Regions from separate parts of the Homo sapiens genome. Here all the other regions are linked to region 2. Evidence: promoter capture Hi-C in 16 types of primary human blood cells and fetal thymus (Javierre and others, 2016). All regions are on one chromosome and are shown on one strand. The core of a region is centred on a gene start or on the middle of the fragment in contact, and the rest is flanking DNA. Distances in the headings are between cores, read along the strand shown.

Region 1 (3,425 bases), core at 408-2,907, 350 kb before region 2:
CAAGCTGCCCCCAGCCTGGTTTCTGCCTAAATGCTATCTCCTGCCAGCTACCCGGACGCTTCTTCCCGGACAGGGGCCAGTCTCTATCTCGCCCTGTCTCCCTCCCAAGCCTCAGTTATCCCCTTGAGGCTCCTGACCCAACCTCGGGGACCCTGGACCCTTGATCCCTGCAAACCAGAAGCCCTTCATTCCAATCCCACCAACCCAGGCCGCTGCTTCCTCCAGACCACAGCAGGGAGCTGCAAAGAGAAGAAAGGAGTCAAGGCAGGCCAGCCTCCCCGCCCCACCCTCACCCATCCCCCCCATCGCCGGGGCTCACCCACACCGGCTAGTGCCGGGCTCAATGGCCTCCCTTCCAGTGCCTGCTTTTTCCGAGAACGTAGGCTGTGGCTCCCCGGCTTCTACTTCTGCGGTGCTTCCCGGCTTCTGGCCTCACTCATCAGGCCTCGACCTGGAATCCAGGGAGCCCGGCCCCTTGTGTAAACACAGGAGGGCCCCCACAGGCCCCTGGAGGAGGTCCGGGGGTGCGGCTCACACGCTTTCTTTACCTGTGCTCTCCCAGGGGGTGAACGCCCCTCTAGACTCAGGCTTCCCGGTCCCCGGGGGGTTGAGATTGCCTCACCTGTTCCCAGGCAGTCTCTCCCTCCCCACAGCCCTGCCAGCCTGCACCCTGCACTTCCCGGTCCACGCCCCACCCGCCATCCCAGCACCAGGGAGGGGCACAGGATCCTTTAAGAGGGGCGGGCGTGGCTGACCCAAGGAAGCCGGTGTGGGAACACCTGCCACCTGGCTGTTGGGAAGGAGGCAGGGAGCTTCCGGGGCAGTGGGGGCAGGAAGAGGGCTGGTCTTCACTGGCATGACGTCCCTGTCCCCAAACCAAATGCATTCTCACCCGCAGGAACCAATTCTCCAACCCATCCCCCAATAACACACACAGAGCACTGTCAGCAAAAATCTTTTTAATAAGAGAGTAGGATCCAGGGTTAGTTTTTGTAGCCTCGGCTGGCCCGTCGGCCTCTGGCACGCTCGAACTTCCGGCCCTTGGAGCGGACGTAGGGTCTGTGGGGAGAGGAGGGAGTGAGAGGGGGGCCCTCTTAAAGGAGGCCATTGTGGAGTGGCACAGGAACACCACAAGCCTGTCACATTCAGCCCCAGGAGAGTCAATGCTGCTGGAAAAGCTTGGCAGAGTGGGAAGCCAAGGAGCCAGGAGGGGCTATGGAAGCACCTGCCCCACCACCTGGAGGGTCCCAGCCTGGGCTGGCAAAGGCCGGTGAACTGCATGCTCCCCAGGAGATGCCTGCTCAGGCCCTGGAAAACACAGCTCCAAGCAGTGTTGAAGGGAAAAGCAGGCAGGATGAGGCAGCTGAGAGTTCCAGAAGGCCTGGGGCTGGCTGGTACGAGGGATAGGAGAAGCAGCCCAAGTGTGGCCAGGCCTGGCCCTGCAGGCTGAGTCTGGGGAGAGGGCAGGGCTGGGGGCCTGATACTCACTTGGTGTGGCTGTGCGGGGTTCCTGGGGCCTTGCCGAAATGCCGGTACACCTCTCGGCCCTTGCGAGGACCTAGGGAAGGGGAAGGAGAACCGGGTGAGACAGGGATCTGGCGCCCAGCTTCTGGCCTCCCAGATCCAGGAGGGTGAAGGCTGCCAGTAGCCACACAGCTCAGTCCAAACCCGTCGACCACGTATCACTCACCGGAGAGCAGGACAGTGCCACAGCCCTTAGGGGAGTCCAGGGCCAGCTGGTCGAAAGTGAGGATCTTGCCCCCTGCCCTGAGGATGCGGCTGCGGGCCCGGCTGGTCACGCGCAGTGCACATACCTGGTGGAGAGGACAAGGCTGGCGGGTCAGACCCCTGCGTGGTCACCCAGGGGCTGCCAGGACTCACCCTCCACTGCCTTGGCGCAGCAGAGCCCTGGTAACCAACACTATCGTTTACTACCCGGAGCACCCTGGGCTGACAGCAGCAGTTCTCAACACTTCCGGAACTTTCACCACCACATCCCTGGTGTTATGCTAGAAACTACAGCAAGGAAGCTGGGCCAAAAAAAGACCTGTGCAGAGGTGACAAAGGAGTCTAGACTTGAGCCCAGGCTGTCTGGCTCTAGGGGCCAGCACTAACAGTTTACAACTTGCCCCAGAAGAAGCTTGCCCAGGGGACCCCACCATCAACCATGCCAGAGACGACCCACACCAATCCTCAAAGCCACTCAGACAGGCAGGATGCTTGCCTCACCAGCGGTGGCAAGACTGAGGATGGACCAGCACAGCACAGCACAGCACAGCACAGCACAGCACAGTACAGCAAGGGTCTGATGGGTCTGCCCAGCCCCCGCCAGCTCACCTTCAGTTTGGGTACCTCCTGAACCCGCACATCATCAGTTATGGTCCCCACAACCACGGCCGTCTTGTTTTCCCGGCCAGGAAGCTTCATCTTCCGGATCTTAGGGTGGGGAGGATGTACGTCGTAAGTTGTTCTGGTGTTTACATTCAGCCCCGCTTGAGGCATCCCCAGGCCAGGGCAGCTGTGCCCTCTAACGGGACCCCCCACTCACACCACACCCCTTAAACCCCACAGGCCTCTCCTCAGGTCCAGCTGGGGAAAGCTCCAGATAAAAAAAAAAATGCAGACTGTTCAATAGGGCCTCCCTCAGCAGAGCCTTTGACATAAAACTCAGTTATGACTTGGGGCAATCTCCTGAAGCCACCAGGACACCTCCACCTCACAAAGAGAAGGAGAGGAGGACCAGGAGACTTGCCCACTGCCCATGGACACTCAGTTCCAACCAACAGTCCAAGCTCTACGCTCGCGACTGGCTGAGACAAACCCTTGATGCCCTGGTTGCTCCCAGAGCTCCAAGTCCTGCCTCCCTTCCAGACAGACAAGACCCAGCGGCTCCCAGGTCTACCGTGCTCTCTGGACCAGCCACTCACCATCCGGGAAAGGGACAGAGGCGGCCGGTTGGTGCGACTCATAAACAACCTCTTCAACACAACCTGGTTGAATGTGGAGTTGGTTCTTCTGGCCAGAAACCTGTATAACTGGAGGGACGGGAAGACAGTGAGAAGCTGGGACAGCCTGCTCCCCCGCAGCCTTCCAGTGAAGGGGCAAACACATGATGATCTGGACTAAAATAATCTTTATCCCTTTCCCCCAACCCACCGACCTAGAGGGAGAAAGCTGGCCCAGGTCCTTCCTGGCCAAGGACCTAGAAAATCCTGGCTCCACTCCCGAGCTGTACACAGCCTAGAGGCTGAAAATACAAATGCAGGAGACCCTGGAACAGAACCAGAGACCCGAGACTGCTCTGCAGGCCCCTGGGAGGAGCTTGGTGCCAGCACTAGAATGGAGGATCTGCAAGTCAGACCTGGGGTGACCCTTCCCAAAGACCTCAGGGCCCAGCCTCACCTTGACCAACAGCCTCAGGTAGA
Region 2 (4,532 bases), core at 748-3,247:
GGTCTCTGTACCCCTCTGTCTCCGGGTCTGTTTTCCCCTCTCTCTGGGTCTCTGTCCCCCTCTCTCTCAGGGTCTCTGTCTGAGTCTCTTTTTCTCTGGGCCTCTGTCTCCCCACCCCACGTTCTCTATGGTCTTCAGATCCTGTCTCTCTCAGCCCCTCCTCTCCCTCCACCTATGGGCCCCAAGGCCCCTCTCGGCCGACTAAAGGTCTCTGGGCTGAGGTATGACATTTGGTAAATGAGTAACTCGGGCCCCACAGTCAACGGGGTGCTTTGGACGGCTGCCCCTCCTCCATGGACTCTTCCCAGAGACCCCAAGTCAGGGGAGAGAGAGGGGCAGAGGATCAATGAGTGTACACTGAGCCACCACCCAGAGTGAGGGGACAATATGGCCACAGGCAGGATCCCAGAAAAAAAAAAATTATGGGAACCAAAAAGACACGGAGACAAAGCACACAGCCGGCTTCCAACAAGGGGGGACCTTGGGGTAGGGGGCCCGATTTGGGTCTGAGCCAGGTCTAGTTCTGAGGGTCCCACCAAAAAAGTCGGGGAGTGCCAAGGGGATGAGGTCAGCGAGTGGCCCCACCCCCATCCGTCCCCGCGGGGGCCCCTTCCCGCGCTGAGCTCAGCATGACTCAGCAGTCGCTGCCTGCAACAAGGACCCCAGATACCGGCCTGGCGGGGCATCTGCAGATCCCCTCGGTCAGGGGCTGCCCCGCCTGGGCTGTTCGGAGCAGCTCCTCTGTAGGGCAGGGCCTGACCTCACCCCACACCCCAGTGGCTTCAGCTCCCTGCCCAGCGCACGGGCTGCCTCCATCAGGGCACTTAAGTAGAGTCAAGGTTTGCGCCGACTCCGTCTCCCAGAAATCAACGTGGACCAGGCCCACTTAAAAAATATGCATTAGTCGAAGACAGACGTCTCGTCCATAGGTCCCCAGACTGTTTGTCCACAACGCAGGGCTTCTCTTTGTGGGCCTGAAGGAGCACACGTCAGGCAAGACACGAGGGCAACTTCAGAGACACTGTTCAGGGCCACGGAGAATTCTCGAAGTCTGTGAGTTGTCTCCAAAACAGCCTCCAGGAAATGCAATCCCAGAGACACCGCAAAGCTCAAAACAGACTTTTCATTCCTCCCCATTTCCACTCCCAGAAAAAGCCTGGGCCCCTGAAAGAGCTCCAAGGTATCCCCAAAGTCCCAGCCCATCTTTGGAGGGTTCCAGAGGGCTGTCCAGGGTTCCAGAAGTCACCCTACCTCATACAATGCTCCTCCTGGGCTTCCCGCACTGGGTGAAACCCACGGCTCCAGAATAACTGCCCTTTCCAACTTGCAGAGCACCTCAAGAACCTAAAGATTTCCCCGGGGAGGGCTCCAAAATATAGAGAGTTTGCATCGTGAACCCCCACCCCTGTAAATCCCAGGACTCCAGTCCCCGCAACACTCCATCTTCCAGAGATCTCCAGGGGTCCAGAAATAACACCTCACAGCCTTCCAAGCTTCCCAAGGATCCGGAGACTCCTTATCTCGCAGCGCAAACCTCAGGCAACTACAGGTCCTCCCTGCACCTTTGAGGTGCCCCTCCCCCCACTCAAGGTTCCAGAAAAATCCATGCCCTCGGAAACCCCAGAATCTTACTTTCCCGAGGCACCCCAGGACCCCAGGGTCATCAGTTCACAGGGCTGTTAGTGCTCCCATAAAACTCTAGCCTCCCAGAGGGACCCCAGCCCCCACCCTCCCGCCCACGAACCCCTGCATTTCCAGAATCAGCCCCAGGGCCCCAACCCCCCCAAGCCCCCATTTCACAACACGCTGGCGCTACAGGCGCGTGACTTCCCCTTGCTTTGGGGCGGGGGGCTGAGACTCCTATGTGCTCCGGATTGGTCAGGCACGGCCTTCGGCCCCGCCTCCTGCCACCGCAGATTGGCCGCTAGCCCTCCCCGAGCGCCCTGCCTCCGAGGGCCGGCGCACCATAAAAGAAGCCGCCCTAGCCACGTCCCCTCGCAGTTCGGCGGTCCCGCGGGTCTGTCTCTTGCTTCAACAGTGTTTGGACGGAACAGATCCGGGGACTCTCTTCCAGCCTCCGACCGCCCTCCGATTTCCTCTCCGCTTGCAACCTCCGGGACCATCTTCTCGGCCATCTCCTGCTTCTGGGACCTGCCAGCACCGTTTTTGTGGTTAGCTCCTTCTTGCCAACCAACCATGAGCTCCCAGATTCGTCAGAATTATTCCACCGACGTGGAGGCAGCCGTCAACAGCCTGGTCAATTTGTACCTGCAGGCCTCCTACACCTACCTCTCTCTGGTGAGTCCCCAGGACGCCCCTGGCCCTAATTTCCTCCAGCTGCGCACCTCCGGCCCTCACTGCACGCGCCAGCCTTCTTTGTGCGGTCGGGTAAACAGAGGGCGGAGTCCCCTTGGCCTCGCCTCCCGCTAACCATTGTTGCCTCCATCTCTTCCCGTAGGGCTTCTATTTCGACCGCGATGATGTGGCTCTGGAAGGCGTGAGCCACTTCTTCCGCGAATTGGCCGAGGAGAAGCGCGAGGGCTACGAGCGTCTCCTGAAGATGCAAAACCAGCGTGGCGGCCGCGCTCTCTTCCAGGACATCAAGGTAACTAGTGTGTGGGTAATGGACTACATCTCCCAGCAGGCCGTGCGCGCGAGGAGCCTTGATTTGAGGGCGTAGGTGTCGCGTGGGCTTCTGGGAGATTGAGTTCGGTCTTGTGAGCCCTCTTAACCGCTGGAAATAGAGGCGCACCTCGTGCAGTGCCCACAACACGCGGCAGTCCACACCGCTGCGTGGTCTTAGGGACGTATAGCTGTAAGAGCTAGGACAGGGTGCGGAGAGTGATAAATACAAGCTGTCACATGTCTTTGTGGCCTGGGCCTCTGACCCCCAACGACTCTTGGGAAATGTAGGTTTAGTTCTATGTGCCGAGTGTGTGTATTCTGAGCCATTTCTCCCTTCTATATAGAAGCCAGCTGAAGATGAGTGGGGTAAAACCCCAGACGCCATGAAAGCTGCCATGGCCCTGGAGAAAAAGCTGAACCAGGCCCTTTTGGATCTTCATGCCCTGGGTTCTGCCCGCACGGACCCCCATGTACGTACCCGCTGCATCCATGGCTACCCAACCATACCCCTCAAGCCTCTGCTCCCTTTGGGCAAATTTCCTTCAGAGCCTCATTTCACACCTGTCACATTTTAATCTGCAACTGGCTGCTCTCTCCCCCTCTTTTCCAGGGATTGGGTTTCTAATTTCTCCCTCTTCTCTCTCAGCTCTGTGACTTCCTGGAGACTCACTTCCTAGATGAGGAAGTGAAGCTTATCAAGAAGATGGGTGACCACCTGACCAACCTCCACAGGCTGGGTGGCCCGGAGGCTGGGCTGGGCGAGTATCTCTTCGAAAGGCTCACTCTCAAGCACGACTAAGAGCCTTCTGAGCCCAGCGACTTCTGAAGGGCCCCTTGCAAAGTAATAGGGCTTCTGCCTAAGCCTCTCCCTCCAGCCAATAGGCAGCTTTCTTAACTATCCTAACAAGCCTTGGACCAAATGGAAATAAAGCTTTTTGATGCAGCTGGTGGTTTTGTGTGTGGTGTGGAAGATGAGGTGGGATCTGTTCTCATAAAGCTTCTGGCTGGGTTGGGATGCCAGTGAAAGAGGAGTTGGCCCCATCTCCCATTTTCTTAACTGTCCTAAGACAAGAGGCTATCTGGGTAGTGTTGAACCTGAGGGTTCTCTGCTTGCCTGGCTGTTAACTGTCCCTCCCAGATGGTAGAGATAGACTCCAGGGAGTTGAATTAAGACCTAGGTTGGTATCTAGAAACAGATGTTAGGTCTCAGCCAGAAACAGCCCTATTTAACGAGTGATTATGGGGCCAGGTGGGTCGCTCACCTGATGTCAGGAGTTCGAGACCAGCCTGACCAACATGAAGAAACCCCGTCTCTACTAAAATACAAAATTAGCTGGGTGTGGTGGCTCATACCTGTAATCCCAGCTAGTCAGGAGGTTGAGGTAGGAGAATCGCTTGAATCTGGGAGGCGGAGGTTGCAGTGAGCTGAGATGGCGTCATTGCACTCCAGCCTGGGCAAAAAGAGTGGAACTCCCATCTCAAACAAAAAACATGTCTGCCTCACGGAAGTTGCGGTGAGCTGAGATGGCGCCACTGTGCTCCAGCTTGGGCAACAGAGTAAGACTCTGTCTCAAAAAAGAAAAAAGCCTCAATTCTGGGAGGCAGTTGGAATTATTAGGCCCTTTATATGGGCACATTGACGCTATTGCTATGCAACTTGCATGGCAACCGGGGGGCTCACTGAGGTCTTTGCTCCAGAGTTTAAGAGATTATGGCCCGAGCTTGAGTGATCCCAATGTGAGGCGCACACTGAGAGGAACTGGCCAGTGGAGCTGAGCAGCCAGGAACACGTGATGCCCAAGCAATGCTGGACAAGGGGTTTAGGGTTCATCACAGAAATGGGATGTGAAACCTTGGGCCGGATTCTCCAAATGGGAACTGAAGAAGCTTAAAACAGGCCTTAAAAA
Region 3 (4,148 bases), core at 974-3,473, 290 kb before region 2:
GCAGCCGCCTGCCTGGCCCTCAGCAGCATCCTGTTAAGGGCCAGTCCCCCATGTCCCCTTTCTCTCTGGATAGTTGCTGGATAGTTCAGGGGGTGGCACCCTCTGGCCCTTAGCACCTTGAGGAACCAGGCTGTGAGTTCCCTAGTGTTCCTGGGGGATCCAGAAACCAGTCGTGGCCCACAGAGAGCCCATACCCCTCTTTAAGAAAGAGTCCAGCCATGCTCCCAGCAGACTCATAGGAGGCCTGCCTGGGCGGCCTGGGGTCCATCTGGGACCCAGGCTTCCTTTCCCTGGCTCTTGGCATGCACCCCCCAACCCGAGCCCTGAGGCCCCGACATTGGCCAAACCTGCACTCAAGAAGAGAGCGTCCTGCAGCCAGTTCCCCGCAGGCTCTTCCTCCAAGCTGTGGCGCGGTGGGCTCTCAGGAGGGAGTGGCGTGGCTGTTCTCAGGCCCCAGGCTAGTGGGGTTTCTGGGCTGGGCGGGGGCTCAGAGCAGAGCCCGCAGAATCTAACACCGCCACCCCCCTCCCACCCCAATCCCTCACCAACCGCAGCCACGCTATCCCCACAGGGACCCCTGCCAGCCAGGCCACCCGCAACGGTGTGGGACGTGAGTGCCGTTGCCCCCGGCGGTCCAGCAGCAGGACAGCCCCGAGCAGCCTGGCCTAGGAGGCTCACCGCAGGTAGGACGGGAGGCTGTCAGTCGGGGGTCCCGCTCCATCCCACTCCACCCCTGCCCACTGGCTCAGCCCCGCCTTGTGGTGGCCGCCATCGCGATCGGGCAGGGGCTGACCTTTGGGAGACAATCGCTGTTGGAAACTTTGCTCAGCCCCTGCCTCTGGCTGCGTGACCCCAAGCCAGCCCCTCCTCCTCCTCTCTGGAACCTTTTGTCAGCTGTGGGTTCACCGAGCCTTAAGGTCAGTAAAATCTGTGCTCTTGGAAGGTTCAGACCAGCCCCTGGAATTCAAAAGACCTCAGTCGCTTTCTAAGATGGTGGGGAAGGCGACAAATGAGCTGAGAACACCTGGGCCCCAGTGTTTCTCATGCGGCAGAGGGAGAAGGCGGGGACCCCCGGGGTGCGGGGGACCAAGCTCAAAAGCACCTCCCCAGTGCCGCTGGTGTCCTGCGAGTCCTCAGTGCTTTCATCGTGACATTTTCATGCGAATGTTGCTGTCTGTTCTATTCCATCTCCGAATGGGTTGACTAGAAAAATAATGTTTTCTGTCACTTCCCGCTGAGAAAAGCAAGGGCCTCATGGAGTTGGGGCGCGGCACCTGCTGCCCTGGGTGGCCCCAGCGTTTATCGTGGTGTAGCGTGGGCCCAATCCTGACAGGCTTGGGACCCACTGCCCCAGGCCCGCCCCCAGGGGGTGCGAGGGCACAGCAAAGGCGACCCTCGACTCTGGACCCTTAGGTACCACGTTGGAGGGGGCCAGATTTGGCAGGAGCAGGACAGGGACATCGGATTTGAAAGAAGGGAGTCACTCCGAAAGCTGGGAGGTGCATCAGCTGCAGGAGGATGGAATGGGGCTGAGACGCCCCCCATCAGAGGGGGCATGTCAGAGCTGGGGGCCCAGGCTGTGTGAGTCAGAGTGGAACTTCGGGATTCAGGCGCAGGTCCCTCCGCTGACCCTGCCTGAGCTCCCCCTGTATGGGACTTTGCCGGGGGTTCGCGCTGGGAACACAGACCCCTGCCCCATCAGGCTCAGTGTCCAGAGAGGGAGGGGGAGACCCCAGCAGCGCAGGTCCTTCTGTGCTCTAGGTTGTTGGAAGGTGCCAAGTGCCTTGGAGCAAAGCAAGTGGGGGGGGCGGCCACGGGGGCCCGGGGATTGCAGATGTAAGTGGGGTGATGCGGAGGGGCATTTGTGCTGAGCCCACCGCCAGCACAGAACCCAGCTTTGCTGCCACACAAAACTGAGGAAGAAGGCTTAGGTCTCGCTGCGTCTTCCTCCCCACCTGGGCGAAGTCTCAAGCTCCGGCTCCTGGAGGGAAGCTTTTGTTCCTTGCAGCTTGAGCTGCCTGAGTTGATGGGCGCCCCTGCGGGTGCCCGGGGGCAGGCGGGGAAGAACAGACGGAGCTGCCACAGCCGAGCACATAGTGCCCCAAGCTGGGAAGGAGACTGTTTTTTTTGTTGGGGAGAGTTCTTTAAGGGCTGGAGACCTTCACCCTCACAGCTTCTACAGAAGGCCAGGCCTGCCCAAGGCACATCTCTGAGGTGGGTTCAACCCAGAGAGAACCTCAGTGCTGGGCTCACACAGACCTCTAACCCCTGCCTTGGTGGCCCAGATATAACGGAGTCTCCACGAGGCAGGGCAGGTCACCCGCAGGAGTTACTGGGCATTGTGTGGCTGGGTAGGGCCTGCCCTCCCGGACATGTTCAAAAAGGCCAGGATGGTAACCCCAGCCATACTGCCTGGGTTCAAATCCACCTCTGTCCTAGCTGTGTGACCGAGAACAAGCTTCTTAACCTCTCTGTGCCTTCATTTCCTCATCTGTTAAATGAGGAAGAAAGAATGGACCTTCCTCATGGTGGGCGGAGGGGGTCATGAGGACTGAATGAGCTGACATGCCCACGGGTTCTTATCTGAGCTCTCTGGGAAAGTCGTGTTCCGGAACCTTCTGCTTCCTGGCCCTGTTGTCGGATGCATAGTACGTACGTGACATGGCATCCATGGTAGGTCTGGGCCGCATCACATTGTCAAACATGTTATGTTTTAGGCAGCAGAGCACATGGGTGTTCACAGTAAGAGAAGTAAAGTCTGCAAATAGCCACATGACCCTCCTCCAAGCCAGGGTTGTCCCCAGATGAGTTCAGTCCAGGTTGGCGTTTGCCGCTCCCCCTGAGGAAAATGGCTGACAAGGAATCGCGGACCAGGACAGCCAGCCCCGTGATGGGCCTGCCCGCCAGCACCCTCGCAGCCTCGGCCTTGGCTGGTGCTTTTCTGCGGCTTTCTGGTTGTCTAGGCTGAGAACAGCCACAAGAGGGAGCACCTGAGATTCCAGGAGAAGCCAGAGCAGCCGCGGTACCCACTGCTTGATCTGCAGGGCCTGGGGGAAAATGCAGACACAGGACCCCTTGTTTAGAATTTATGAAGGATTTTAAGACGGCAACACCAGATCATTAAAGCAAGCGTGGGGCCTGTCTCAGCGCAACTGCACGAGTCACACAAAATGAAGGCGGACCCCGCGGGGGGCACCCTTGTCCTGAGCTGGTTTCCCTTGGCCAGTGACCCAGGCTCCTGTCCCTGCCCTGCACCCCCACTGACCCCAGCTCTAGCCTTGGGACCTGCCTGGGGGCTCCAGCTGGGCTCAGAGCTCAGCTCCTTCTCCGTGGGGCAGGACCCTGAGTTGAGTGGATGGCAAGATCATGTTTGGGACACAGTTTTCACCAGCTCAGTGAAAAAAGGCTTGGGCAGATTTAATTCACTTTTTGCAAACTAAAGCAGCACCAGGAGCATTTTTCTTAGGCCTTAGGCCAGCTGGCCTTGCTGGGGACCCACACGAGACTTTCAAGGAGGGCCCCAGAGTGTTCAGGCTTCTCAGAAGGGTCAGATGAACCAAATGAGGAGCCCTGGAATAGAGGAGGATGACAGCTGAAGAGGCCTGGAGGGCCCCAGATTGTTCAGGCTTCTCAGAAGGGCCAGATGAACCAAATGAGGAGCCCTGGAATAGAGGAGGATGACAGTTGAAGAGGCCTGTAGGCCCCCGATGTTTAAGAGGACAGGCGGAGGGAGAGATGGGGAGCCGGGAGGGGTGAGGCAGAAGCCAGAAGTTTTAGGGGTGAGCCCATGCCAACCAGGGCTTCAGCAGGAATGGGGTGGGAGGGAGGGGGTGAAGGGATGACTGCTGAGCTGTAGCCATTGGAGTGGCCACAGGGAAACCATAGGACATTGGTCAGAGGAGTGGACAAGGGGAGAAGAGAAAGCCGATCAGGACATGGTAGAGGCTGGGAGCAGAGGACCTTCTGGGAGCCCTGGGGAGAGCTGGAGGAGACTCGGAAAGAGCAGCCCCCGGAGAAGGGACCATCCATCCCACGGCGAGGACCGGGACCGAGGTCCTTGGAGCCCAGTCAGGCCCAGTGGTCAGGGCTGGACCTGGAGGTGAATAGGTGTGGGCCCCACGGTGAGATGGCCCTGCACACCCACCACA

The links. The method cuts DNA at HindIII sites, captures the fragments that hold promoters and counts their contacts. A CHiCAGO score of 5 or more calls a contact.
Region 1: a contact is called between a fragment that was not itself captured here and the fragment with the promoter of FTL in region 2, in 1 of 17 cell types (endothelial precursors). The highest score is 5.6, in endothelial precursors.
Region 3: a fragment that was not itself captured here is called in contact with the fragment with the promoter of FTL in region 2 in 3 of 17 cell types (endothelial precursors, erythroblasts and M0 macrophages); the score reaches 8.1 in endothelial precursors.

Annotation. Positions count from the first base shown.
Region 1 is chr19:48,614,389-48,617,813 of GRCh38, forward strand. It overlaps FAM83E (family with sequence similarity 83 member E), which reads right to left and starts at 688. Exons shown (of 7, transcript NM_017708.4): 1 at 549-688; 2 at 320-451; 3 at 1-239. It overlaps RPL18 (ribosomal protein L18), which reads right to left. Exons shown (of 7, transcript NM_000979.4): 2 at 3,403-3,425; 3 at 2,928-3,035; 4 at 2,338-2,436; 5 at 1,691-1,814; 6 at 1,489-1,558; 7 at 943-1,059. The coding sequence ends at 984. RefSeq lists enhancers at 104-935, 172-221, 372-431, 936-1,767, 1,768-2,598 and 1 more. The HindIII fragment of the contact is 962 bases long and covers 1,177-2,138 here.
Region 2 is chr19:48,963,312-48,967,843 of GRCh38, forward strand. FTL (ferritin light chain) reads left to right here and starts at 1,998. Exons shown (of 4, transcript NM_000146.4): 1 at 1,998-2,298; 2 at 2,459-2,605; 3 at 2,970-3,095; 4 at 3,272-3,568. The coding sequence starts at 2,197. The coding sequence ends at 3,424. RefSeq lists a cis regulatory region at 397-897, enhancers at 579-688, 2,238-2,287 and a silencer at 1,828-1,987. The HindIII fragment of the contact is 1,823 bases long and covers 1,492-3,314 here.
Region 3 is chr19:48,672,585-48,676,732 of GRCh38, forward strand. LOC105372431 (a long non-coding RNA gene) reads right to left here. Exons shown (of 3, transcript XR_936016.3): 2 at 2,657-3,047; 3 at 562-1,203. It overlaps NTN5 (netrin 5), which reads right to left and starts at 433. Exons shown (of 7, transcript NM_145807.4): 1 at 348-433. It also overlaps the pseudogene SEC1P. RefSeq lists enhancers at 1,990-2,638, 2,639-3,286 and a silencer at 2,912-3,061. The HindIII fragment of the contact is 466 bases long and covers 1,991-2,456 here.